6 separate regions of the Homo sapiens genome follow, and all the other regions are linked to region 4. The links are contacts of gene promoters, found by promoter capture Hi-C in human tissues and cell types (Jung and others, 2019). All regions are on one chromosome and are shown on one strand. The core of a region is centred on a gene start or on the middle of the fragment in contact, and the rest is flanking DNA. Distances in the headings are between cores, read along the strand shown. Region 1 overlaps ELF1 (E74 like ETS transcription factor 1). Region 2 overlaps ELF1 (E74 like ETS transcription factor 1). Region 3 overlaps FOXO1 (forkhead box O1). Region 4 holds the start of SLC25A15 (solute carrier family 25 member 15). Region 5 overlaps FOXO1 (forkhead box O1). Region 6 overlaps ELF1 (E74 like ETS transcription factor 1).

Region 1 (4,344 bases), core at 371-2,870, 150 kb before region 4:
TTGTTTTTGTTTCAGGAAACACAATTTATCTTTGGGAGTTTTTACTGGCACTGCTCCAGGACAAGGCTACTTGTCCTAAATACATCAAGTGGACCCAGCGAGAGAAAGGCATTTTTAAATTGGTGGATTCTAAAGCAGTGTCCAGGTTGTGGGGGAAGCACAAAAACAAACCTGATATGAATTATGAGACCATGGGAAGAGCACTCAGGTATGCGAAGTTTTGGTATTTTATTGTGTTAAGAATATCATTTTCTAAATTGTAAAAAAAAATACTAAGCTTAAGTTCAGCAAAGCACCAATAGTGGTAATGCAAATACATAATAAGAGGGTACATTTTCAGTCAGGTGCGGTGGCTCATGCCTGTAATCCCAACACTTTGGGAGGCTGAGGCCGGTGGATTGCTTGAGTCCAGGAGTTTAAGACCAGCCTGGGCAACATGGCAAAACCCTGTCTCTACTAAAAATACAAAAAATTAGCCAGGCGTGGTGGTATGCACCTGTGGTCCCAGCTACTCGGCAGGCTGAGGTGGGAGAATCACCTGAGCCCGGGAGGTTGAGGCTGCAGTGATCCAGATTGTACTACTGAACTCCAGCTTGGGCAACTGGAGTGAGACCCTGTCTCAAAAAAAAAGAGGGTGCATTCTCAAACATGAATTGCAAGTATGATATGTTAGTTATTATAGTAGAATAAATCAGTGCTTCAGGAGTACTACTAGAAATCATGAGAATTTTGAACAAGAGTAACATTCTTAAGCTCACTTTTAGTTCGTTTTTCGGTGATTCTGTCATTTATCCTTCAAGATACGCATGTATTTGAGAAAGATGTATTGGAAATAAGAACGATCTGAATGACTTTTAGGGGATAGACAGATATAGATATAAAATTTAGCAGTCTTAAACTAAAACTCTTTAATTACAGTTTTTGGGTTTTTTTAACATACACTTTTTAAGTTCTTGATTTTGTTAAAATAGATGACAAAAGTTGGATCACTGCTATTGCATATGGTTAAATTTTATACACAAAAGTCAATCAAATTTACTGAATCAAATTTAAACTGATACATTTGCCAATTTAAATTTATTGAATCAAATTTAAACTGATAAAATTTGCCTAGTAGGAACATTTCTAGAAAGCCGTGGAGGAGAAACAATTTCTTGAGGCTTTTGGTAGTTTTGATTATCCTGGCAAGTTGGCAGAGGGGGGCTGAGTGTGGTGGCTCGCTTCTATAATCCCAGCATTTTGGGAGCCTGAGAAGGAAGGATCGTTTCAGCCTGGGAGTTCCAGATCAGCCTGGGCAACATGGCAAAACCCAGTCTCTGCCAAAAAATGCAAAAATTAGCCACGTGTGGTAGCATGCGCCTGTGGTCCCAGCTACTGAGGAGGCTGACGTGGAAAGATTGCTTAAGGCCAGGAGTTCAAGGCTGCAGTGAGCTGTGATCATGCCACTGCACTCCAGCCTGGGCAACAGAGCAAGACTCTGTCTCCAAATAAATAAGTAAATAAGTTAGCAGAAAGAGGAAGAAAAGTGAAAGACCAGAGGATTCCACATAGTTTATCAACAGTCCCCCAATCAGCATTAGTTTTAGATTTAGTTGGTAATAAGAACTTATCTCTATCTGTGCATAAATGTATGTTTATCTCATATAAAATAACAGCCCTTTATTTAGAAATTCTTTTCTCATTAGTTTGATTCCAACTTTAAAGTTTTGTTTATGATTAGGGAAATTTGATTTTGTTGAATATTTTAATTGATGTTTGATTGATTGATGAAATTGTCTGCTTTGAATAGGTACTATTACCAAAGGGGTATTCTGGCAAAAGTGGAAGGTCAGCGCTTGGTGTATCAGTTTAAAGAAATGCCAAAAGATCTTATATATATAAATGATGAGGATCCAAGTTCCAGCATAGAGTCTTCAGATCCATCGCTATCTTCATCAGCCACTTCAAATAGGAATCAAACCAGCCGGTCGAGAGTATCTTCAAGTCCAGGGGTAAAAGGAGGAGCCACTACAGTTCTAAAACCAGGGAATTCTAAAGCTGCAAAACCCAAAGATCCTGTGGAAGTTGCACAACCATCAGAAGTTTTGAGGACAGTGCAGCCCACGCAGTCTCCATATCCTACCCAGCTCTTCCGGACTGTTCATGTAGTACAGCCAGTACAGGCTGTCCCAGAGGGAGAAGCAGCTAGAACCAGTACCATGCAGGATGAAACATTAAATTCTTCCGTTCAGAGTATTAGGTGAGAAAACCAAACTACTGATGCTTATCACTTCAATATGTTTCTGACCAGAGACATTATTTGTTAAGTGGGTCAAGATTCAGAAATGAAAATAAAAGTATAAAGGTTTCAAGCTAGAATTCTTGGTTACCAGATTTTTCAGGAGCAGTTACTATTATGTCAGTCCTCTGATTATGCCACTGGTCCCTTTATTTACATTTTGACATTACTGGCATTATTCTGTCAAATACTACACCTTTGTATAACTGGATTGATACATATAAGAAATTATCTAGATGGGAGAAAATCCAGGGTTTCAAATCTTTATTCAGGCCAAGTCAGAAGCTTCAAAAATTCAACATAAATTGACATATTAGGACATTGAGAGTGCATAGAGTTCCAAGCAATAAATGTTATTCCTTGGAAGATCCTATCTTCGAACAATTCTAAAGTTCAAATAGGAAGGGAGGCCAAGAATCTAAGGTCCTCTTTTAGAGTGGCAGAAGTTGAAAAAGTAGGTTTGTTTTTTTTTTTTTTTTTTTTTTTTTTTTTTTTCAGTTAAATCAGATTTGCCTCAGAGCCCCAGGATGAGATGCTAAACAACAAATTGACTGAGAGGATCTGTCTGCCTTAGACTGATCTGCAGAAATTTGGGACTAGTCTCAGCTGACTTAGAATGGGAGTATGGGAGGAAGGCAGAAAATTATATGGATATTTGTAGCATTTTTCTGTTTATACTGTCATGAATTTCTAGAACATGAACCATAATAAAATCTAGCAGCCCTTTCAAAGCCAATAAAAATTATTATTTGATTACTTTTATTAGCAAACTTCAGTCTTACATTTTTATATTCCAGAATATAAATGTGGAGGTTTTGCTCAGTTGATCTTGGAGTAAGGTAACATTACCTAGAATCAAGGCAGACTTAGAAGATTCAGTCTTCTTTGTATAGACAATTTAAAATGTTTGACCTTGTGAAAATATTCTCTTAAATCTTCACTTGATTTGCAAGGAGTACAAAGATGACCTTTACATTTTTAATTGGATGCTACATCTTTTAACTGTTATTAAAGGAGTATATCTTGAGTAGCCCTTATCCAAAATGCCTGGGACCAGAAATATTTTGGATTTAGAATTGTTTCGGATTTTGAATCGTTGCATTATACTTACCCGGCACAGCATCCCAAATCCAAAAATCTGAGATCCACAATGCTCCCGTGAGCATTTCCTTTGAGCATCTTATTGGTGCTCAAAAAGTTTCATATTTTAGATTTCAGATTTTCGGATTTGGGATGCTCAGTGGGTGCTTATTTAACTCTTACTGTCCGTATTCTCCCCTTAATGTTTTATATTTCCCTAGGCCCTGTGGGTTACAGGTGATGACTGGGTGTCTGGTTGGGAGTGTGTGGTTCCTCCCATTGGTTTCTAGGCTGTTTGTTGTTTGTATTTGTGTTGATAGGAGACCTACAGTGGCCACAGCTGATTCCATGGAATTTTTTTAGCATCTGTATTCAAAATATTCTTTTTAGACTGTGAGAATAAAACCAAAACAAAAAACTCTAGCTTTGAAAGATACTAAATTGTAGATATTATAGAGTAGGTTTTTGTTTTGTTTTGTTTTTTTGAGACAAAGTCTAGCTAGCTTTGTTGCCTAGGCTGGAGTGTAATGACACCATCATAGCTCACTGCATCCTACTTCCAGGACTCAAGCAGTCCTCTCACCTCAGCCTTCCTCATAGCTGGGACTACAGGCATGTCCAGCTAATTTTTTAATTTTTTGTAGAAATGGGGTTTTACTTTGTTGGTCTTGAACCAAGACCAACCAAGCAATCCTACCACCTTGGCCTCCTGAAGTGCTGGGATTATAAGTGTGAGCCACTGCATCTGGCCTAGAATGGTTTTTTATTAGGACAAGTTCTGGTTTTGTTATTTCTTATATTTTTTGTTTGCATTTTTGTAATTACCCAACCTTTTACTATGGAAAATTTCAAAGTATGGAAAAATTCAGCTAGTACTATGAACACTTATTTACTATCCACCTAAATTCACAAATTGATAGCATTTTGCATTATTTGTTTTCTCTATTTATTTATACCTTTTTTTCTCTTTGACTATATCTTTCTTG
Region 2 (4,749 bases), core at 858-3,357, 210 kb before region 4:
TGTGCCATATCTTACTCTGTGCTTCCTGTCAGTTAAACCACGATGAGAGGAACAGAGACACAGATGTACAATTGCTGCTTTAATTTGCCACTGGGGAGACCAGTTAAGCATAAAGCTAGTTTTATTAAACTTTTGTCACTTGTTGATTCGAGGGACGTTGTAGGCTTGTTTGGTATTATATGGATTGTATGCATCATGTGGTGGCAATTAGATGTTTGCTACAGCACCTAATAGGAACATATATCTTTTACATATTTAAAAGGTATTTACTTTTGTGACATTTTTTAGGCCATAAAAAAATTGGCATTTGAATTCATATATTTGATATAAATTCACTATGAAATATTAGGCTAATATTTTGATCTTGAAATTTTAGTATCTAATTATTAACTTTTATGTATTAGTATATCAGGATTCTGTAAAACTTTCAAAGCATTTTGTAGTTTACCAAGTAAATTCTTACTTGGTACAACTTCAAGATGAAAGATGAAATGGAAAGTTATAGAGGTTGACTTATCTAAGAAAATACAGTTAGTAAATGATGTTCAACTACAACTTGAATGCAGGTGTTCTGATGGTAGATCCTGTATCCCTAATGTTAGGGAAAAGGTTTGTTTTCATTAAATTCCTATTCTACCTGTTTCTCAGTGATTTTAACTTTTAGGGTCACCTTTGCTTATTCTTCCCAGAATATCCCCCACCCCCTTTCCTTTCATGTTCTCTCTCCTTGGAAAAAAACAGATGTGGGCTATTTCTTTAGAAATAAGTAACATGTTACTTCCTTATGAAGTTTTTTCAGGTTCTCACAGGTATTTACCCCTCTCTATTCATTCTGTCATCTTTTGGTTGACTTGTTTATTTACATTGTTTTGTAATTATCTGTTTACATTGTTTCTTTTTAGATGTTGAACCACTTTGGGACAAGGATCATATCTTATTTATCTTTATTTTTGTATACCCAGTAAATGGCATATAGTAGATTTCATAAATACTTGTTGGGGGAATAAATACATGCCTGATATTTATTTTCTTTTTTCTAGAATCATAAACTGGTTAAAGAACTATAATGTGAATCTTTTCTACAGGTTGCCTTTATGGTTTATTTCTAAGAAATAATTTTATTGTAAAAGTTATTTTGTACTTCAGCTCCACCCACCCCCAGTTTGTTTTTGCTGTTTATGGAAATGAGATATCTTAGTGAAATTATTAGTGTTTTCATCCTAGTTAAAAGTGGAGATAACATATTGGTCCATTAAAAAATGTAGCTGAAGAGCTTAATTATTTTAGCTCGCTAAGCATCAAAAATCTCTTACTTTTGGCTTCAATCTGGAAAAAATGTCTAGCCATTCATTGTGGTCCTGATATCTCCACTGAATAAATGGAAATAATAATTCTCTTTATTACTTTTTGCTTCTCCCTGTATTATTTTCTGTTGTCACCAAGTTTTTTGTGCCTCAGTGATTGGAGGGTTATAAATTGCAGTCGTCTTGTCAACAGAGCAATAATTTTCACAAATAGGACTTTAGCTTAGATCTGGCCATTCTAGGAATGTCTTATAAAGTTTATATATTAACAGTTTTTCCAGCCAAAAATTGATAGAAGTTACTATGTCTTTTTAAACAATAAATCTAAATGATCAAAGTCAAATTTAAGGATTTAATTTTTAAGATTGAAGGAAAAATTATGAAGCTATATGAATTTAATTTTTAAGGAGTTTTAGAAGAACCAAATAGTTATTTTGTTTATTAAAACTTAGGTAGACATGTGGAAAATAGTTTATAGGGTTTTTGAGTGTCCTTTTACATGTCAGACCTCCCTTTTTTGTGCTCTTTGTTGGGGGGTGTTGATGTATTTCTGAGTTTGGATCAGAAAAATACATATATGTACGTCACTTTGACAATAGTCAGTGAAGCTTAGCTTACCACCAGTTGGTTCTGGGAAGCAAGTACATGCATCATGTGAAATTCTATAGAATGCTAAAACAAACATATGAAAACACTAATCTTTTACTGTTTAATGAAGAATTTTAGTAAGTAAATATTAAGAAAATAAAAGGTCCTTTGATCTTGACCTAGTTTGACTTTTTAATATACACTTTACTTAATATTCTTTTAAACTGTGTTTATTAATATATAGAAAAATTTATTATATGTCTTTTGTTTTCAAGTAGCTTATAATCTTAAGAGATGGGACATAGTAAATAATTACTGAATTACATGGGAGAATGAACTTTGCCCACTTCTGCTATAGCATACATATTACTATGATTTGCATTTGCCTTAGTTGATAGATTGTAAGCGCCTGTAGGGAAAGTCTTCTTAGCTACTTGTTGCTTTCCTACCCTTCTCCCTTACCCACAAGTGTCTGGCAGATAGGTCCCTAAAGAGTGCTTGTCCAAAAGAATATAGACGACACTGATTTATTTATTTATTTATTTTTTTGAGATGGGACTTGCCTTTTTTTTTTTTTTTTTAAGGTAAGGTCTTGCTCTGTGGAGTGCAAGTGGCTCTAACCTCAGCCTCCGAAGTAGCTGGGACCACCAGCTCATGCCACCATGCCCATCTAATTTTTAATTTGTGTTGAGATGGGTTCTCGCCATGTTGCTCAGGCTGGTCTCGAATTCTTGGCCTCAAATGATCCACCCACTCTGGCCTCCCAAAGTGCTGGGATTACAGGCATGAGCCACTGCACCTCGCCCTGATATGATTTCTGCAGGCCATCTACTATTAAAATATAGGAAAAGACAATATAGGAAGAATTATTTCTTCTTCTCCAGGTATTTCTATTTATAAAGGGGATGTTTTTAAAAATCCCAGTACACAGTGTCACATTTCAGTTGGCTCAAAGTCAAAATTAAATCAAAATGAAGGCGTTGAGGTTACCCCTAAGTAAATCAGCTTTACCTGGAACAGCCTCCTTTTGGATTTATCTGTACCTATTTCCCCCCCAGATTTTCCCTTCCCCTCACCTTATATACTCACAGATCGTCTCTGAAAGGTAAAAAAACTTCTCCCCACAACTCTTAGTCCCCCATTTACTGTAGGAGACGTCACATTCTCTGTGTCCAGTTGTCAGGGGTTGGATTGTAACTAGGAGTTAGATATTGAACGAGAGAGACAGAAGTTTCTTTCATGGGTTTTAAGATAACAGCCTATGTTGCCTGACAATCCCCATTTTTTTTTTTCTTTGAAGCAAGGTCTTGCTGTTTTGCCCTGCTTGGAGTAAGTGGCTGTCTATAGTTGTGATCACAGTGCACGGCAACCTTGAACTGTTGGGCTGGAGTGATCTTCCTGCTTCAGCCCCCTGCTATGGGAGCGTGCCACTGCATCTGGCTTTACATTTTTAAAGCAGAATATTTTGAGGGGAAACAGAATGTTGTGATTAAGATCACTAGATTCTAAGCCCTATGAGGGCACAAATTTTGGTCGGTTTGTTCACTGCTGTATTCCCAGCACTTAGAACAGGGTCTCTCACGTTGTATGTCTGTTCTTATGCCAACCACGCTATTTTGGTTATTATAGCTTTATATTCTATTTTGAAGACTTGTAGTGTGGTGCTTCCAGCTTTGTTATTTGCTATTTGAGATCTTTTGTGGTTCCACAAAATATGGATGTGGTTCTCTTTTTAAAAAAAAGATAGATGGAGTCTTGCTATGTTGCCTGGGTTGGTCTCAAACTCCTGGGCTCAAGTGATCCTCCCATCTTGGCATCTCAAGGTGTTGGGATTACAAGCATGAGCCACCATGCCCAGCCTTCATATAAATAATAATTAAAAAAAAATGTTGGCCAGGCACAGTGGCTCACGCCTGTAATCCCAGCACTTTGGGAGGCCGAGGCAGGTGGATCATGAGATCATGAGTTCAAGACCAGCCTGGCCAACATGGTGAAACCCCATCTCTACTAAAAATACAAAAATTAGACAGGCGTGGTGGTGGGCACCTGTAATCCCAGCTAGTTGGGAGGCTGAGGCAGGAGAATCGCTTGAACCCGGGAGGTGGAGGTTGCAGTGAGCCGAGACTACACCATTGCACTCTGGCCTGGGCGACAGAGTGAGACTCTGTCTCAGAAAAAAAAAAAAAAGTGTTTTTCCTATTTCTGTGAAGAATGTCATTGGTATGTTGATACAGATTGCATTGAATCTGTAGATTTCTTTGCGTTGTATCTAATTATTTATTTTATGATTTATTTTTATCATCTTTCCTAATCTCCTTGAGGACGTGTCAGATTTTTGTATCTATGCAGAGATATCAGTAGTTATTAGAGATGTTTAAGGATTAAATAAAAAGCAGTATACTGTACATGTTTTACTTTGTAAACCATAAAGAACTTATTAGACATTAGGTATTGCTAGTAAATAATAATATAAATAAACCTTATTGTGATATTGTACAATTCCTGGATGTGTCTTTATAGTAAAGTATTTTTTTAAATCTAGTAAGTGCCCATTACATCTACTGAGACAACTTTGAATTCTTGAACTTTCCAAGAGTACAACAAAGCGATAAAGCAGAAAACACCTCTGATAAAGACCCAGGTTCGGCCCAGTGTGGTGGCTCACGCCTGTAATCCCAGCAATTTGGGAGGCCGAGCAAGCGGATCAATTAAGGTCAGGAGTTCAAGACCAGCCTGGCCAATGTGGCGAAACCCCGTCTCTGCTAAAAATACAAAAATTAGCCCGGTGTGGTGGCGTGCCTGTAGTTCCAGCTACTCCAGAGGCTGAGGCAGCGGGAGAATTGCTGGAGATAATGAC
Region 3 (4,514 bases), core at 566-3,065, 150 kb after region 4:
CAGTAGTGCTGGCCACTATGTGTGTCAGTAGTGCTGAAGTTGTGAAACCCTCCCTGCTCTAGACAAAATTAGTTTATTTTTTTCCTGCATGAAAATGCCTTTGTTGCTTAGTGAGTGATTTTGAACTATTGGAATAAAAAACTGAGAGAATTCCTAACTTAGTTACTAGTGTTTTTATTTACTGCACCTAAAACTAGAAGAATGACGTGTAGGGCTCTGGACTACTGACAGGCGACCCTGTGGTAGGGCCAAGCAGGGTTAGACTGTCAGAGGGTCTGACCTCCTATTCCATCAGCCCTGAGGCTTGTGACCTCTGAAGAGATGAGTCACTCTGCTGGCTCTTGAACCTTCTCCATATCCCTGCTTCCCTTTTCATTGTCTTAGTAACTGTTGTTGTTTTTTTTTTTAAAGACAGAGTTTCCCTCTTGTTGCCCAGGCTGGAGTGCAGTGGCACTATCTGATCTCAGCTCACTGCAACCCCCTGCTCCCGGGTTCAAGCGATTCTCCTGCCTCAGCCTCCCAAGTAGCTGGGATTACAGGCACGCACCACCACACCTGGCTAATTTTTGTATTTTTAGTAGAGACGGGGTTTTACCATGTTGGTCAGGCTGGTCTCGAACTCCTGACGTCAGGTGATCCACCCGCATTGGCCTCCCAAAGTGCTTGGATTATAGGCGTGAGCCACCGTGCCTGGCCTTAGTGACTGTTCTGGAGTTACAGAGGTGGTGCGCTGCCCTGCCCCCCTTCCTTCCATTTCAGAACTTCCAGTGATGGTCTGAAGTTTCTACTGCCTTCAGTGCCTCATCACAGTATGAATACAGTGCCCATCCTTCTGATGACCACTTCTCACCACTGTCGTGAGTGGGCATGTATTTTCCTAGGACCATTGCCACCTTCTGAAACCTTAGGCCCCCTCCTCCTCCTCCCAGACTGCCTATTTTGCTGCCTTTTTTGTGAAGCTTGTTGTCTTGATTTCCTCCCCAATTGAATGGGATTTCTCTGTTTCCTTTGATTCCCCCCTTAACAGGTGTGCTCTCTCTTGGAACTTTTTGTGAGTTAGTCTCTCGCCCCCAAATCTCATTGGACTGTAAGCTTTTAAGGGCAGAATTCTATTTACTTTTCCTTTCTGGTCCCAGGAAACATCTTAATATTTAGTTTCTCACACACAATGGGAATGAAACAGACATTTAAAAATGACAAATTTTAGCTTTTTTTTTTGTTGGAGAAGCAAAAATGTATTCTTTCATATAATGTCTTCCTTACATCACTTCAACGTTCCTCTATAAGTTATCTCCTTATGGTGATGATGGTGATGCCAGAGGTTCTCATCTGGCTTGACATGTTTTTCTAGTGCATCCTTTTAAATTACTAGGTCCTTAAATTAAATGATCTGGTTCACTGCTGTCATTGTACTAAACTGACCCTAAACCAATCCTTGCTGTTCCTAAATTTAGAAACAGAAAGAACCTTCACAGCATTCCAGCCTTTCTGCCACTGAAGTCTACTGACAGAAAAACCAAATTTCAAGAATTTTTTAAAATACAAAAACTTTTAAGTGGGTAGACATATCACTGTTAACTCAGTAGTGGACTGTTGGCAGTAAAATGTGTACTACAGCTTGCAAATGACCCTAAGTGTGGTGCCTCCAGTATCTTAGTCTCATCTGTAATACAGATAAACATGAACTTTTTCTGCAGTTCTGTATAGTATTGCTTATCTAAATAACCAGTTATTCCCATAAAGTGAGTAGTTGCTGAGGAAGTCAGTATAGTAGAGTGCGTAAGTGCTTCGGTTTGCCGGTCACACTGCCTGGGTGGAGTTCTGCCTTCAGTGCTTACCAACTTTATCACTTGGGCAGTTGACCTCCTGTGCTGCTCTTTACTCGTGTGAAGAATGTAAATAGTAACTCTTATAGGTTGTTGTGAGAATTGAACAAAACATAAAATGTGTTCTAGAGTAGCGTTTGCTGTGTAGGAAGTGTTTTATAAATGGTAGCTATTATTATCATTACTTTGGTGAAGTACAGATTATATATAGAAAGCAGAAAATAGAAGGCTGACATTTTTTGAGTTGGTTAAAATTTGATAGCTAGGAAGACGTAAGGTTGAGGGTGAAATCCCAGCAGGACCTATTGTAACCTTTTTTTTTTTTTTTTTTTTTTTTTGTGATGGAGTCTCACTCTGTTGCCCAGGCTGGAGTGCAGTGGCACGATCTTGGCTCACTGCAACCTCCGCCTCCCGGGTTCAAGCTATTCTCCTGCCTCAGCCTCCTGAGTAGCTGGGACTACAGGCACGTGTCACCATGCCCGGCTAATTTTTTGTATTTTTAGTAGAGACGGGGTTTCACCGTGTTAGCCAGGATGGCCTCAATCTCCTGACCTCCTGATCCGCCTGCCTTGGCACTCCCAAAGTGCTGAGATTACAGACGTGAGCCACCGCGCTCGGCCATAAGCTTTTTACATGGGATCAATTGCCACTGCCACCAGAAAGGCTGTCACAGTGTTGAGTTGGGGTATCTTTCTGTCAAGTTTGAATCCAACCTTCCTCCACTTGTGAATGAAGTTCTTAATCTTCATGCCTCAGTTTCCTCATTTGTAAGTTGGTGCAATAATGATCAAGGGTTGTTATGAGAGCTACATAAATTAATAATACATGGTAAGGTGCCTAAAGAACAGTACCTAGCGCATAGTATTCAGGAAAAGTCACTGTTTATAATTACAGTAGTTTATTCAGCCTAGCACTTGTACTCCACCAGGTATTGTGCTAGGCTTCTTGTTATTTCCTTCTTTTAAAACAATATTATTATTATTTTTTGGCCAGGTGTGGTGGCTCACGCCTGTAATCCCAGCACTTTGGGAGTCCAAGGCGGGTGAATCACCTGAGGTCAGGAGTTTGAGACCAGCTACTAAAAATACAAAAGTCAGCTGGGTGTGGTGGTGCATGCCTGTAATCTCAGCTACTTGGGAGGCTGAGACGGGAGAATCATTTGAACCCAGGAGGTGGAGGTTGCAGTGAGCTGGGATTGTGCCACTGCACTCCAGCCTGGGCAACAAAGAGTGAAACTCTGTCTCAAAAAAAAAAAAAAAAAAAAGTTTTTGAAAAATAGAAATGGGATCTTGCTATATCGACCAGGCTGGTATTGAACTCCTGGCCTCAAGCAGTCCTCTCATATTGGCCTCCCAGAGTGCTGAGATTACAGGCATGAGCCACTGGGCCCAGCCCATTATTTTATTCTTACAGTAGCCTTTCATGGTGTAAGTATCATCAACATTTTACAGGTCAGGAAATGGAGACCCAGAGAGGTAGAGGACCCTACCTTGTTTGAGGTTGTACAGCTTGTGTGGCAAATGTTTAACAGACCCCACCATTTTGTTTTTTGTTTTTTGTTTTTTTTTTGATGGAATCTCGCTCTGTGGCCCAGGTTGGAGTAGGGTGGTGAGATCTGAGTTCACTGCAACCTCCGCCTCCCAGGTTCAAGCGATTCTCCTGCCTCCGCCTCCCAAGTAGTTGGGACTACAGGTGTACCGCACCATGCCACGCCTGGCTAATATTTGTATTTTTAGTACAGACAGGGTTTCATCATGTTGGCCAGGCTAGTTTCGAACTCCCGACCTCAGGTGATCCGCCTGCCTCAGCCTCCCAAAGGGCTGGGATTACAGGGTGAGCCACAGTGCTGGCTCCCACTGGTTTTTACAGATGGGCGCCACTGTGGGTCTGTCACATGCATGCATCTGGTCCCCAGGGAGGGGCAGCAGGTAGAGTACAGCTCATCCTGATGGCTGGGACCTCTGTCACGTCCCCAGAAGTGGGCAGGGCAGGCCCTCAGTGGAGGGGAGAGGACTCACTCTCCTCAGTGGTGTGCCTGACCATCCAGAGGCCTTTCCTGCACAAGGCATCAGCCTTATTGACTGTAGAGGGCAGTGATTAGAGGTGAGAAATTTAGCTTAAGGGATTGCCCAGACATGACATCTCAATTTTCCTCTGTAAAAATACTCTTCCAGACTCGTGGTAATGAAAATATTTTCATTGTAGTCTTAGCAGGTTATTTGTTTGACAAGCAGATTATAAAGCTGAGTAAAAGCAAAACTGACCAGGATGATGATATTTTGAAAACTGACTCAGTGATGTAAACAGTGCTTCTACCTGGTCCCCATGGATGCAGTATTAAACTGGAAATTAAGTCCTTAAAAGTCCTTAACCTTCGTGGGTTAAAGTGTTCTTTATCAGGAACAGTTTTTTTTTCCCCTAAATGTTAAGCTTGTAATGATTCTGTGATGCTGCAGAATTACAGCATTACTTGTAGACTTAGTAGCATATAGCAAAAAATTTATCTTAAATTTACTCCTGTGTTTCTTCGTAGGAGGAATAAACAGTGAATGGGAACCAGTATTTTTCAAAAATTTTTTTGGTTAATGAAGAACTAGGTATTACGATTTCTTTGTCTGATATCTAATACTTTGTTTCAGGCAATAAAGAACAATGCCATATGCCTTACCAGGTAGATTTTTATATAAA
Region 4 (4,326 bases), core at 1,742-4,241:
ATATTATAAAACAAACACAGTCACAAATAGCCACATCAGACTGATGGGACGCCACACCGTGCACAAGCATCATGTGTTCTTAGAACAAGGCCCTGCGCAAGCATCTTCCTGTCACACACATCTTCCCGTCACCACAGACCACCAGCCCTTCAAATGTAAACGTGTGCAGGAGTAGCCTGGGGGCCTTGCTAAATAAAATGCGGCCTCTGATTCAGTAGCCTTGGACAGGACCAGAGGTTCTGCCTGTTCTGATGAGTTCCCAAGTGAGGCGGACAGTGCCAGTCCACAGACTCACACTTTGAGATACAACACCTGGGCCGTTGTGTCCAAATCCACTTGATAACCTGGAGCACTTATTAAATATCCAAATTGCCAGGACTTTCCTCTGGAAATCTGGATTCAGTATGTTTTGGTTGGAGCCTTGGGCATTTGGGAAAACTAGAATTTCTTTCTCTCTCTTTAGACAAAAGTCAACTACTGTTGAGGCATGGGCTTAATAAATGTTGACTAAAATATCCAACTCAACGACCAATCCTGTACAGTTTTCAAACGGTGTTAGTAACTTATTTGCAAATAATAAGGAACAACTTATTCCTCATCACACTGAGGAGCCGTGTGACCCATCGTGCTGGATCAGAGATGAACACCAAGCACGCTCCTAACACCAATGTCACCCTGAACGTCAACAGGAAACATTGGCCGTGGAGAAGTTGTTTAAACCTCTTGAAGCATCTTGCCAACGACGAGACTTCAATAATCCTCCTTTATTCACAAAAAATTTAAAACCAGTGGCAACAACGGCACATTACTTAATAAAGCAACTAAGTTAGAAGTGCAAGACACTGATTTATATGCTGTTGATAGGTCTGGAGAGACAGGACCATTCACTAGGCTGAAAAGGTGGTGGCCATCTGGTATCTTCCTAAAAAAGTTTATCAGGGTCCTGGCCAGGCGCGGTGGCTCACGCCTGTAATCCCAGCACTTTGGGCCGGCTGAGGTGGGAGGATCACGAGGTCAGGAGTTTGAGACCAGCTTGACGAATATGGTGTAACCCTGTCTCTACTTAAAATACAAAAATGACCCCAGCGTGGTGATGCACACCTGTAGTCCCAGCTACTCAGGAGGCTGAGGCAGAAGATTCACTTGAACCCGGGAGGTGGAGGTTGCAGTGAGCCGAGATTGTGCCACTGGACTCCAGCCTGGGCAACAAAGTGAGACTCTGTCTCAAAAAAAAAAATAATAATAATAATAGAAAATAAAAAATAAAATAAATAAATAAATAAATAAATAAATAAATAAAAAGTTTATCAGGGTCCTAATCCTTTCCCAGAAGGCAAACTAAAGCCTGGAGCAAGACAAGGTCTTCTCCAAGGCCACACAACTGTCAGTGACAGAGGATTCAGTTCAAAGTCCTGTCTTTTCAGGCCTGTGCCTACAAACCAACCGTTAATCTGAGTATTTCAACCTGGCCAAAGGCAACACAAAACACCCAACCCTATATTTTTGGGAAAGAAAAAAACGGGGGCAACTGAGCAGACAGACAGAGGCAAGTACAATGTGGCCTCCTAGATAAACCTCAATGCGCTTATTTCTTTTGGCACAGACACTTCCTTCTTAATTTTGAAGGAAAGTCACATCACATTACATTCTATCTGTCCCTAAGAATTAAACCCTGTTAGGTGAGCCAAACTTAAACACATTAAATTCTACAAATAGGCCAGGCACAGTGGCTCACGCCTGTAATCCCAGCACTTTGGGAGGCCAAGGCGGGCGGATCACCTGAGGTCGGGAGTTCGAGACCAGCCTGACCAACATGAGAAACCCCCGTCTCTATTAAAAATACAAAATTAGCCTGGCGTGGTGGGCCATGCTTGTAATCCCAGCTACTCGGGAGGCTGAGGGAGGAGAATAGCTTGAACCCAGGAGGCGGAGGTTGCGGTGAGCCGAGATCGCCCCATTGCACTCCAGCCTGGGCAACAAGAGCGAAACTCCGTCTCAAAAAAATAAACAAACAAATAAATTCTACAAATAGCCATTAGAATTATTAGGATAGAAAACGATGATGGGTACTAACAGATTCACTCAGAAGGAGTGGGCAGCTAATTCACATTATGTGTAGCTCTGGCTTGGAGAAGACACAGGGCTTGGAGGAGGCAAGACTGTTCAGCATGAATTAAAATTGATTTATGAGCTTGCTGTAGCACTTGGAATAGAAAAAAGAATCTTTTCAGCGCCTTTGACCCCTCTCTCAAATTACACCAGGGTGCAACTGAGGAACAACAGTGCCGACCACCCACTTTTCTCGACCCTTGGGGAAAATAACTTTTTTTTGGAAGGGAGAGTCAGTAGATGAGGCTGCATTTTCCACCAGGGAACACGAACTGCTGCGGGAAGATCCCAGCTTCTGGCTAAAGGAGCCGCAGGCCAGCTCGCCATCCAGTCCCCAGAGCCCGGGCTTTAGGTAAAGCGTGGAGATGCAAATCAGTTTCGCCGCCAAGGACCGGCCAGGCGCGTCTCCTCCCGGGCCTCGCAAGGAACAGGTCAGGGAGACGACTTCCAACTTTCTTGGCCGGACCCTAAACGTTCACCGCCCCTGCCCAGCCGCCCACTCCTGGGCAGCCAGCAAGTCTCCATTCACAAGCGGCTCCATGCTGCCCAGCACTGGCGCCCCTGAGGCGCGGAGCCCCGCAGCCAAATGACAGGACTTGGGGGCAAACAAGGACAAAAGTTCCCACCAGGTGGGCACTGCAGGAAGGAGGCCGACAACCCCGAGATTCTCCGAGTCCCGCGGCACGTGCGCTGCGACGCTGGCCGCTTCCCCCGCCGCTCGGGAAGGTCACGCCGCCCGCACACCGAGGCCCGCCCCGCGCCCCGCTCCCCGCTCCCTCTGCCTGGCGCGCTCCCCGCAGCTGCAGGCGCCAGACCGGGCTGCGCTCACCGCCGCGCCGGCGTGGCCGCGTCCAGCTCAGGCTCCGCCGCCCGCTCTCGGCTCCGGGTCGCCGGCTGGGGCGGCCACTTAACACCCACGTCGGCAACGGCCGGCCCTTCGCCCCTCCCTTCGCGCAGGCATCCCGGACTGCGGCCCCGCGAAGCTCAGGAGCGCCCCTGCGGCTGGCGGGCGGCCTGCCCAGGGCCGTGCCCGAGCCGAGACCGGGAGCCGCCACCGCCCACCGGCCCTGCCACCGCCCCCAGCACGGGAAGCGGAAGTGGGCGTGGGGCCGCGGCGCGCACAGCCAGCCCGCGACCCGGCGTGGTGCTGCCGCCGACCCTGGTGAAGGTGGAGAGCGGGGCCTGCGCCTCCGGAGACTTTCCCACCTCTGGGATCCCCGAGACCCTCTCTGAGGCCGGACCCTTGTTAGCCCGCTGGGCTGGGACTGGGGGCTGGGGGCTGGTAATGTCAGTGGTTGGGAGGACTTACTTTTTAGCTACTTTGACCTTGTTGGGAGGCTAAGGCCTTATTTATAAATTATATTTGAGTACAAAATTATACTCGGGATCCAAGGCCCTAATAGGAAATACAACTAAGTATGAAAATACAGGAATTAGCCGGGCATGGTGGCTCACGCCTGTAATCCCAGCACTGTGGGAGGCCGAGGTAGGCGGATCACCTGAGGTCAGGAGTCCAAGACCAGCCTGGCCAACATGGTGAAACCCCGTGTACTAAAATTACAAAAATTTATCCAGCGTGGTGGTGCGTGTCTGTAACCCCAGCTACTAGGGAGGCTGAGGCAGGAGAATCGCTTGAATCTGGGAGGTGAAGGTTGCAGTGAGCCAAGATTGCATCACTACACTCCAGCCTGGGCTACACAGCGAGACTCCGTTTCATAAAAACAAACAAACAACGACAAAAAAAAAAAGGTGTGGTGACACATGCCTCTATTCTTAGCTATTTGGGAGGCCAAGGCGGGAGGATCGCTTGAGGCCAGGAATTGGAGGCCGCAGTGAGCTATGATGGCACTGTTGCACTCCAGCCTGGATGACAGAGACCTCATCTCTCTCTCTCTCTCTCTCTCACCCACACACACACACACACACACACACACACACCCTCCACACAGTGTAATTTTATTTTACAACTTTAAGCCTTGTTTAGATGTGCTGTTGGATTATTATTTTTTTCTTTTTTTTTCTTTTTTTTTTTGAGACAGAGTCTCACTCTGTCACCCGAGCTGGAGTGCAATGGTGCAATCTCAGCTCACTGCAACCTCCCCCTCCTGGGTTCAAGCGATTCTCCTGCCTTAGCTTCCCAAGTAGCTGGGATTACAGGCATGCGCCACCACACCCAGCTAATTTTGTATTTTTTAGTAGAGACAGGGTTTCACCACC
Region 5 (4,682 bases), core at 446-2,945, 190 kb after region 4:
ATATATATGATATATTCAGGTTTTTAAAAGTAAATGATAAAGAACATCACTAATTTTATTTTATTTTTAGTAAATCAGTAAATCAAATATGTACCAGTTTTTAAATTCTGGAAACAAAGATTCCAGGTTTCTATAGCGTTTAACAAATTATTATTCATAGCAAAATCTGCATTCCTGAGGCTGGGAACTAGAGGAAAGGGTTTGTGTCTAATAGGAACCAATTGAATTTTAGAAAGGATGTTAACATATAGCTGTTTTACTGTCTATAATGTTAAATGAATACACTTTTGGCCTCTGTCTAGAAAAAAATAACATCTTAATCTAGTGTGTGATTCTTATACATAAGACTTTTTAGGGATGACAGTAATATTTACAAATAGGTAAAAAAATATAGAGTTGTCTGGTTTAGACTCCTGTTGTCATGGCATGTTTAAAGAAGAAAGCTTCCAGCCGAGAAAGGCTTGTGATGAAGTAGCATCACCTTTCAGTTAGTTCTCTGTAGTATAGATTATGTGTATGTGTCTGCCTGGTCATAGATGCTGGTAGCTAGGTGTCCTTGCCTGATGCCAATATGATTCTGGGCTGAATGCATATGAATCCATTCTAATATAAGTGTAAATAGCACATGGGAAGATAAACCTACCAAGAGAACCACATACAGATCATATGGTTTATTCCAGAGGCAAGAATGATAAAAAAAAAAAAAGATCTGACACCAGACTAATTATGAGATAGTTGAGTGCACTCAGTCATATGTATGCTTTAAATAACATGTAGGTACATGCACATACATATACAGTATCACTATCTAGATTTTTCAAAAGATTGACTTGTAAGAACAAGTGACACACATTTAAAGTGTTAATAGTGCTTCTAGGTGGCATGTCTTGTCTTCTTTTTTTTTTTTCCTTAGTGGAAATTGCAAAATTTAGGCTAATTCTGTCACATTCAATATAAATCACACAGTTAAAAAGCCACTCTGTAGTTTTCCCAGTCTTTGCCCCATTTTGGCACATAATTGTTCGGGATAAATTTCTGTGGCGACACCATCATCTGCTCCAGCTTTCTCACCTGATCTTTGCTTCCCCAGCACACCACATCAACCCCAGTTCTTAATTCCCTTGACAAAACACACTTCATGATTGTATATGGCACTCTGACTGCTAAAGCTAAGCTCTAGTACAGTAGTTGAGTTATAGTTTTCTTGAAACTCAGTTGTGCTTTTTCAGATGTGTTTGTGCAGTAGTAATTGTTTTCCTAAGAAAAAGTTAGTTATTAAATATGAATGTGAAAATAATTATCTTTAGGAAAAACTAAGTTGAACCCCTTGAAAGACTTAAGCTGCTGATAAATTAGTTGCAGTCAGACCCTGTAAGATTAGGGGAAACCATGAAGAACTCTGTAGTTGGATTGATATGAAAGGGGTTCAGTTGGATTCCTCTTACACTTGAAAGAAACCCAAATTGTAAATCTGTGGTGACAATATACTGTGGGTTTAGGGTTTATAAGAAAGAATGGAAGCCTAGCCAGAGTATCTTGGTTCAAAGGTTTGCTGTACCTCAAGCACAGTTTCCTGTATATTTTTAAGGCAAATGTTTAAGGAATACATATATATGTACACACACACATGTACAGACACACACACATATATAAGGTATACATACTTTTTATTTATAATATATGTATATATTTAAAATCCTGTGCTTTAACTCAACCTTTTTTTTTTTTTTTTTTTTTGGATTCATCTGCCAACTAGGGTCTCCATCTGGTTTGGATTGGATTGAGATTGGATAACACCTTTCCACCTAATAGCAGCATTAAGAGCATTGACTGCCAAAAGCCATAGCTAACCTACTTTCTTTAGGATACATATTGTTTCTCCTCATTACCCTGTAATAAAATAAGATTTATCTTAAGCATGTCCTGAGAGAAGCCTAAAATGGAAATACACGGTACAGGCATCGTAAGCTGGGAGAGACCTGAAGGACCATTGGCAGCCCCCTGAATTGTAACTGAGGAAATGGCTCTGTCAGATTGAGATCTGCATTAGTGGCCTAGTTGTGGAGTGACGTAGGGAGTGAGTGTATGAGCAGAGCATGTGTGGTGTTCATTCCCATCCATCCATCACTCATCCTACATGAAGTTGCCTCTGGATTGGGACCTTGAACTCTACTAATTTTATGGTAGTGTAACTTGCAGAAGACTTACCAGGTAGGTGAGCTTGGTAGTATGTTTTGTTTTGTTTTGCATTTGGGACCATCTTCACATGTGTCAACTAAGAAGGATTTGCTGCTAACCTATACCTAAATCTCTGACACAAATCCTGGAAAAGCCTTAAATGATTGGCAGGTAGTGTTGAAAGGTGCTGTATCAGGGTTTTGTAAATCATGCCATCTAGATAGAATGCATTGTGTTGGAATGAAATTAAAACAACCATTTTAAAAAATGTAAATGACCTTGGGTAGAAAAACACGAGCATTAAGCTGTATTAGCAGGTGAAGATAAATCTCTCCCCCTTCATGTTTGAAATAATCTTTTACATTGTTTATGTGAATTTCTTTCTTTTTTTCGGGTACATTGATTATGTATCTTCCCCCACCCTCCACATTTAATCCCCTAAGGGATCGGTATTAATGAGTTTTATGCTTTGAATTTTAAAATTTTCTTGTCCTCAAAAGTGAGACTGGGGAAAAAGAGAAAAGACTTTAAACATTTTCTTTGAAAGCTTTTAGTTATCTCATATACCTATTCCTTTTGAAAATTTCTCTGTGGATAGCCGGCTTAGTTTCTTGCAAATGACTAATTTAAATGCCATAGAACATGTTTAGATTCACTGTCACATGGTTGTTCTTGCTACATTTCTTTTGCTCAGATTCATCTTCAGAAAGTGAGGGAGGGGGAAAGCATATTAAGCATATTATTCCTGCAATTAAGGCATAGATTGGCTACTTAATTTGTAGTTAGTAAAAAACTACTGTGATGGAACTCAAAATATTAATAAATTGAGAAAACCAGAATGCTTGTCTTTTGCTTTAGTGATGGGACTAAGGTTTACATGAATCTTTCTATGTCATGTAGTTTCAGCTAGTGCCTCTTGGCTCTGAAAGCTATGCATATGTAATTTCATTATTATTGATAACATAGTACCTCTCTAGAGAGTTCTAGTTACTGTATTTTTAAAATGCAAACATTTGAAAATGTAGATACAATTCTATTTTTTAAAATTAATAGGTCTGAACTGGGATCTTTGGTGATATTTCCATTTCAAAGTATTTATCAAATCAAGACATTAGTGGTAAAACAGTACTAGTACAAAGATGCTTAGGTATTGCTCTATATTTTTCAAAAGAATAACAAAGCAAGAACAACATCTTTTAGAAACGTGTCTAAAAAGGTGCCAATGTGACCAAAAAACCCATTTAATCACTGAGAATTTTAACAGAAATTTTTTAAAGTATTATATTGCAGGATCAATATTTAGTATATTGGACAATTCAGAAGATTTATTCAGGTTTGCTTGGGGATTGAGAACAAATACGTGTTTAAATCTGTATGTATAATTTAAAAATATTAGAGAAAATTTGAAAAATAGGGAAGAGTCAGCCATATTGTTTTAATTAAACAAAATGACTGCTTCTGTTTTAGCAGTGCTTCCACTTTGTTTTCTATGCGTTATCTTTTTGAAGCCACTGGTTAATGTATGTATAAAGCTTGCCAGCTTGTTTTTGATTAACAAAGTTCAGTCAGTGAATAATGTAAAATACTATTAACAGCATAACTGGAAAGTGACTTGAGCACATAAAAATCACCTTTAAGTCCAAAGTTAAATTCTTGTTTTTATGTTATTTATTGTTTTTATTTAGAGAAGAGATACGTGCCTCATCTTAGGAATTCTCATTTAATATCCTTCAAAGACTGGGCTTTAATGAACAAATTTGTCATGTGGCAGAAGTTACTGTAGTCTGATGAAAGGGAAGATGGCTGCAAAGAAGAGAAAACGGGTGGTGGGGGGCATTGAGGTATAATAATCTGTGGCTGTGGGATGGTTTTCGACAGACCAGTCATAGCCCAGACTCATGTTTCCAAACATACATTAACTGCAAACCCTGATCTCAGGTTTTATGTTTTTCCATCACTTTTTAGCTTTAATTTGTAGTAGATTGCTTGAGGAAAGACCCCTGTTGATTGGTTGTAATCATCTAAGATTTATGATGATTAGGAAGTCTAAATAAAAGTCTGTTAGATCCAATTTGGACATAAATTTTGAATGCCCAGTTTATTGGATTGCCTTGAAATTCTAATTGGTAATATGCAAATCGAGTTAGAGTCTTGACTATCAAAATCACCTTAGGACTAAATTAGACAGTTTGGAAGCTCCATTAACTCTTTCAGAGTACTGAACTACTATTTAGTCTACCCAAACAGTAATTTACTAAGTTTAGCATACCCAGACAGTAATTTGCAAAGTAATACTTTGAAGATGCTGGAAGGAGTTAATGAAGCTTCTGAAATATTGTGTTTTTTGGGAGAATCTGACTCAGCATTTGCAGTAGTTGGAGTTGAGAAAGGGCGTCTTTAAATTTTGGATGCCTAATTGGCAGGAATTGTTGCTAATGCTACAGTCTTTGATTTTTATCATACTCCTACGCTCTTCCTGTCATGTTGCAGACTCCTTTTACTAA
Region 6 (4,535 bases), core at 26-2,525, 180 kb before region 4:
GTGATTGTGCCACTGTACTACAGCCTGGGCAACGGAGCAAGACCCTGTCTAAAAAAAAAAAAAAAAAGAATATAGAAAGTGTTTACAGGGAGCTTGAGTTAATCAACAGAAATATTTGGAGCTGTTTTAGTGGCATATTTTTTTAAAGTATGTGGAGAATTTGGCTATGAAGAATTCTTCACAGAAAACTTTGTACTGGGCTTTGGAAATCTATTGTACAATCCTAGCTTGCTTTGTGTAATACATCAATTCCTGAAATCATTTAAAATACACTTTGGAATTTAGAAATAGTAGAAACCATTGAGGAGGGGCACTATATGGAAAGGAAGCAATGATGTTTCATACTCTTGGAATATAAATATGTTCTGTATTATTTATTCCCAAAGATAATTATTAAAAATGTGCCATGGGGATTTGTTGAAAGGATTTCAACTTTTCACTTTGTTCACCAGTCACCCTAATTTTTTGTGTGTGTTTATCCATGTAGATGTACTGTGTGTAGCGATTTCCTTTAATTTTATCATGGTTTATATGAGGTAATGAAGGAATACCATCATAGTATTTTGAAGATGTTTTGAAGTTTTGTTTCTCCCATCAGATGGACCTCTGCTTTTTAAACTTCTTATTGAAGTGTAGCATTAATATAAAAATGTATGTCGGTAATAAGCATGCAGTTTATGAATTTTCACAAAGTGAACACACATATGTATCAACATTTGCTTTTAGTTGAAGCTAAATGTTGTTGCTAAGTGTGGATGGTTAAGGTTTGTTCACCTATGTTTTGAAAAGACTATTCTCATTAAAAATAAAACAAAATCAAATCCCAACAAAGCTTAAAGGTTAAAGAAAGCAAAAGAAATAATAAATAAAGCAAAAAATAATTAATAAACAAAAAGGACAAGGCATGGTGGCTCACACCTATAATCCCAGCACTTTGGGAGGCCGAGGCAGGAGAGGATTGCTTGAGCCTAGGAGTTTGCGACCAGCCTGGGCAACATAGAGAGACCTCATCTCTACAAAAAAAAAAAAATTAGCCAGACATGGTGGCATACGCCTATAGTCCCAGCTACTTGGGAGACTGAGGCAGGAGGATTGCATGAGCCCAGGAGTTCACAGATGCAGTGAGCTGTGATCACGCCACTGCACTCCAGCGAGGCGACAGAGCAAGACCCTGTCTCAAAAAAATAAAAACAAAACCATGCCTGTCCATGTGAGATTGTAGTAAGTCAGTTTTTGAGAGTGTTTATTTCTATCCGTATCAAATATTGAAGGGCTTTAATCATCAAAACATTTTATTTATTGCTTACTATATGCCATGCATTATCACAAATGATTTATTTACACATTATTCTTACAACAATTCCAGAAGATACTATTATTCTTATTTTGAATAGATGTAGGAACTAAAGCTTAGAGAGGCTGGATAACTTGCATGAGTTCAAATACCCAGGCCATGGTGGAGTCCTACCTTAAATAAGAACCTGAGTTTTTACTGTTACACCCTGTTCACCATGTGTGTATGTAGTGCATTTGCTGCATGGTAAGGTACTGTCAGATCGTGTTGTAATAGAGTAAGGTGCTGGGTTTTTGTTTTTTAAATCAAATGTAAAAGGAAGTGATTTCAAGAATAATTCAGAAGTCCTCAAAGCAGTGTCTTCATAGGATAAGGCTTTGGGGCCTCAGTCTGATTTGAAGGCTGGGCACAGGGATTTGTCTCAAAGATGTGTTTTCATAGCAAGTGCAGTGTTTAATTTGTGTGCTTATTGGACAGGCTTTGGAGTCAGGGGAGCTGTTGAAGACTGTGGGAGGAGTAAGGCACCAGACCCCTCTTGGTGTTTTCTTGCCTTGATGCAAAGATGTTGCGTGAACTACTCGAAGGTGTGCTCATTTTGCACCTGTCTTTAAAAAGTAGTGTCTGCTTTGGAAAAATGCTAGAGACTAAATTTAACTTGCTTTTTGTTTTGGGAAAATATTTTGTAGGTATTTCATTTTAAGCTATTTTAGAGAGGATTTTGATGGGATGTTTCACAATCACCATATACCAGATTGAGTTCTGCTATTAGAGAAACTTGGTAAACAAGTTATATGAAAGTTCTTGTGCTTTTTGATACCCAAAAACTTGATGAACAAAATTATTAATGAAGTTGGAATAATGATTCATGGTTTCTGAAATATCCACATAGGACCTTGGATTGTGGTATGTGGAACAAGCAAGCCTAGTTAGGGGAGTCACATAATGTCCTGCTTACATTGGTCGCTTTCCTTCTCTTTTTAACTTGATGGTATTGCCACATACGTGATCAACCACAAGTGGAAACTATATCGTGGACAATGTTGAAATTTGGGGAACTGTGACTCTCTTCTGCTAAAACTTGGTTTGAATTTTATTATTGCTCCAAAAATGTTTGCTGAAATTTTGCTTTCAACATATATCCTAAATTTATCTATAATTAATAGAAAGGGGAAATCTCTTTGGAGCTGTTAAGACCTTCAAGAAAGTTATGAAACAATTGAAAATTACTTTATCACTGCAGTAATTTGCTTCTAGATATTGAAGCTTTGGAAACCCTGATCTTTGATAGATTTTAGTTCCAGGAGATCTTCCCTCTCTTGTTCCCATGGTTTGTGGTTTATTTTGGTTCTGTTCAAAAACCAAAGGGGAAAATAATCTGCAAGTGACAAATAGCAAAAGATCTAATAATATAAAAATGTAATTGTTTGAATTACTAATATCCCAGATCTTAGCAAGAATAATTAGAGCTGACTCAACTTAGGGAATGCAGTTTTGAATGTTGTCATTCTTCAGAGCGGTGGTCCTGAAGCCTGGATGCAAATTGGACCCACCTGGGGAGCTTTAATATTAGGCTCTGGTCACACCCCCAGATAGTCTGATTTATTTTATCCCATGTGGGGTCAAATATTGATATTCTTAAATGTTTCCCACTGTACAGCGAAAATTGATAAGCACCAGTAGAATTTAATTAGATTTCATGATGCAAATAAAAGAAAAGATGCTTAATCTAATTATTTAAATGATGAGAGTTTTTAGAAGTGTTTGGAAGGTTTGGAAGGTCATTTTTTAAAGTAGCAGCCAGTCAAATGGAATGTAATGTTTTTGTTAAGGCATCAAAGAAGCATTGAAACCTTCATTTCTTTTTTTTTTTCTTTGAGATGAAATCTTGCTCTATCACCCAGGTTGGAGTGCAGTGGCATAATCTGGGCTCATTGCAGCCTCTGCCTACCAGATTCAAGCTTCTCATGCCTCAGGCTCCTGAGTAGCTAGGATTACAGGTGCACACCACCACACCCAGCTAATTTTTTTATTTTTTAGTAGAGATGAGGTTTCTTCATGTTGGCCAGGCTGGTCTCGAACTCCTGACCTCAGGTGATCCACCCGCTTCGGCCTCCCAAAGTGCTGGGGTTACAGGTGTGAGCCACTGCACCCGGCCAACACCTTCATTTCTTAAAAGTAGGTAACATCTTATTGCTTACTATTAGGAGTGTGGCTATTTTATGAATATCTGCTATCTTCCTGAAGCCCATCTTTTAAATAAATCTTGGGAAAGGGTCTGTTTGAAATGGTGTGGAAAAAATTGAGGTGGGTAAGATTTGATGATCTTCAGCAAAGAAACCTGAAGAGTAATATCCAATCTCAATTTAGAAACAATGAAAAGACTAGTTTATACAAGTTATTTCGGGCAGAGGGAACAAATTGTTAAATGACAGACTTAAAACCAAATTAAATTAAGTCCTATTATTGGTTGAATTGTGCCTGCGTGCACACCCACACACCAATTCATATATTGAAGTTCTAACCTCTAGTACCTCAGAGTGTAACCTTATTTGGTTGTTGGAAATAGGGTCATGGCAGATGTAATTAGTAAAGAAGTTACACTACAGGAGAGGGGAGCCCTTACTCCACTACCTGGTGTCCTTATAAAAAGGGGAAATTTGGGCTGGGTGCGGTGGCTCACACCTGTAATCCCAACACTATGGGAGGCCGAGTTGGGTGGATCGCTTGAGCTCAGGAGTTCGAGACCAGCCTGGGGAACATGGAGAAACCCCATCTGTGCAAAAGATCCAAAAATTAGCCAGGCGTAATGGTGCATGCCTGTAGTCGCAGCTACTTGAGAGGCTGAGGTGAGAGGATCGCTTGAGCCCGGGAGGCAGAGGTTATGGTGAGCTGAGATTGCACCACTGCACTCCAGCCTAGGTGACAGAGGGAGAGCTGAGATCACGCCACTGCACTCCATCCTGTCTCAATTAAAAAAAGTCGGGGGGTGAGTGGAGTTGGATTTGGACACAGAGCCCATGTAAACATGAAGACCAGCCATCTATAAGTCAAAGAGAGAGACCTGGAACAGTTCCTTCCCCCACAGTCTGCAAAAGGAGCCAGCCCTGCCAACACCTTGATTTCAGACTTTTAGCCTCCAGAACTGTGAGAAAATAAATTTCTGCTGAGGGACCCAGTTTGTAGTACTTTGTTGCAGCAGCCGTAGCAAACTAATATAAGTCCCAATATTTTATTTGTTTTG

What was found. Contacts are between HindIII fragments. The study calls those that stand out against the background at their distance.
Region 1: a fragment that was not itself captured here is called in contact with the fragment with the promoter of SLC25A15 in region 4 in 1 of the 25 tissues and cell types used here (stomach).
Region 2: a contact is called between a fragment that was not itself captured here and the fragment with the promoter of SLC25A15 in region 4, in 1 of the 25 tissues and cell types used here (lymphoblastoid cells).
Region 3: a fragment that was not itself captured here is called in contact with the fragment with the promoter of SLC25A15 in region 4 in 1 of the 25 tissues and cell types used here (spleen).
Region 5: a fragment that was not itself captured here is called in contact with the fragment with the promoter of SLC25A15 in region 4 in 1 of the 25 tissues and cell types used here (small bowel).
Region 6: a fragment that was not itself captured here is called in contact with the fragment with the promoter of SLC25A15 in region 4 in 3 of the 25 tissues and cell types used here (dorsolateral prefrontal cortex, lymphoblastoid cells and spleen).

Annotation. Positions count from the first base shown.
Region 1 is chr13:40,938,816-40,943,159 of GRCh38, reverse strand. ELF1 (E74 like ETS transcription factor 1) reads left to right here. Exons shown (of 9, transcript NM_172373.4): 7 at 16-208; 8 at 1,790-2,239. Among named protein-coding and RNA genes, the nearest start is that of ELF1, 78 kb to the left of the region's middle. The HindIII fragment of the contact is 4,134 bases long and covers 1-3,687 here.
Region 2 is chr13:41,000,309-41,005,057 of GRCh38, reverse strand. The region is part of intron 1 of ELF1 (E74 like ETS transcription factor 1); the gene reads left to right. Among named protein-coding and RNA genes, the nearest start is that of ELF1, 17 kb to the left of the region's middle. The HindIII fragment of the contact is 4,925 bases long and covers 1-4,569 here.
Region 3 is chr13:40,635,094-40,639,607 of GRCh38, reverse strand. All of the region lies in intron 1 of FOXO1 (forkhead box O1), which reads left to right. Among named protein-coding and RNA genes, the nearest start is that of FOXO1, 29 kb to the left of the region's middle. The HindIII fragment of the contact is 3,078 bases long and covers 277-3,354 here.
Region 4 is chr13:40,788,276-40,792,601 of GRCh38, reverse strand. It overlaps SLC25A15 (solute carrier family 25 member 15), which reads right to left and starts at 2,991. Exons shown (of 7, transcript NM_014252.4): 1 at 2,939-2,991. RefSeq lists an enhancer at 1-50 and silencers at 1,415-1,709, 2,842-3,421. The HindIII fragment of the contact is 20,114 bases long and covers 1-4,326 here.
Region 5 is chr13:40,600,409-40,605,090 of GRCh38, reverse strand. The region is part of intron 1 of FOXO1 (forkhead box O1); the gene reads left to right. Among named protein-coding and RNA genes, the nearest start is that of FOXO1, 64 kb to the left of the region's middle. The HindIII fragment of the contact is 4,823 bases long and covers 1-4,106 here.
Region 6 is chr13:40,964,254-40,968,788 of GRCh38, reverse strand. All of the region lies in intron 2 of ELF1 (E74 like ETS transcription factor 1), which reads left to right. Among named protein-coding and RNA genes, the nearest start is that of ELF1, 53 kb to the left of the region's middle. The HindIII fragment of the contact is 3,260 bases long and covers 1-2,905 here.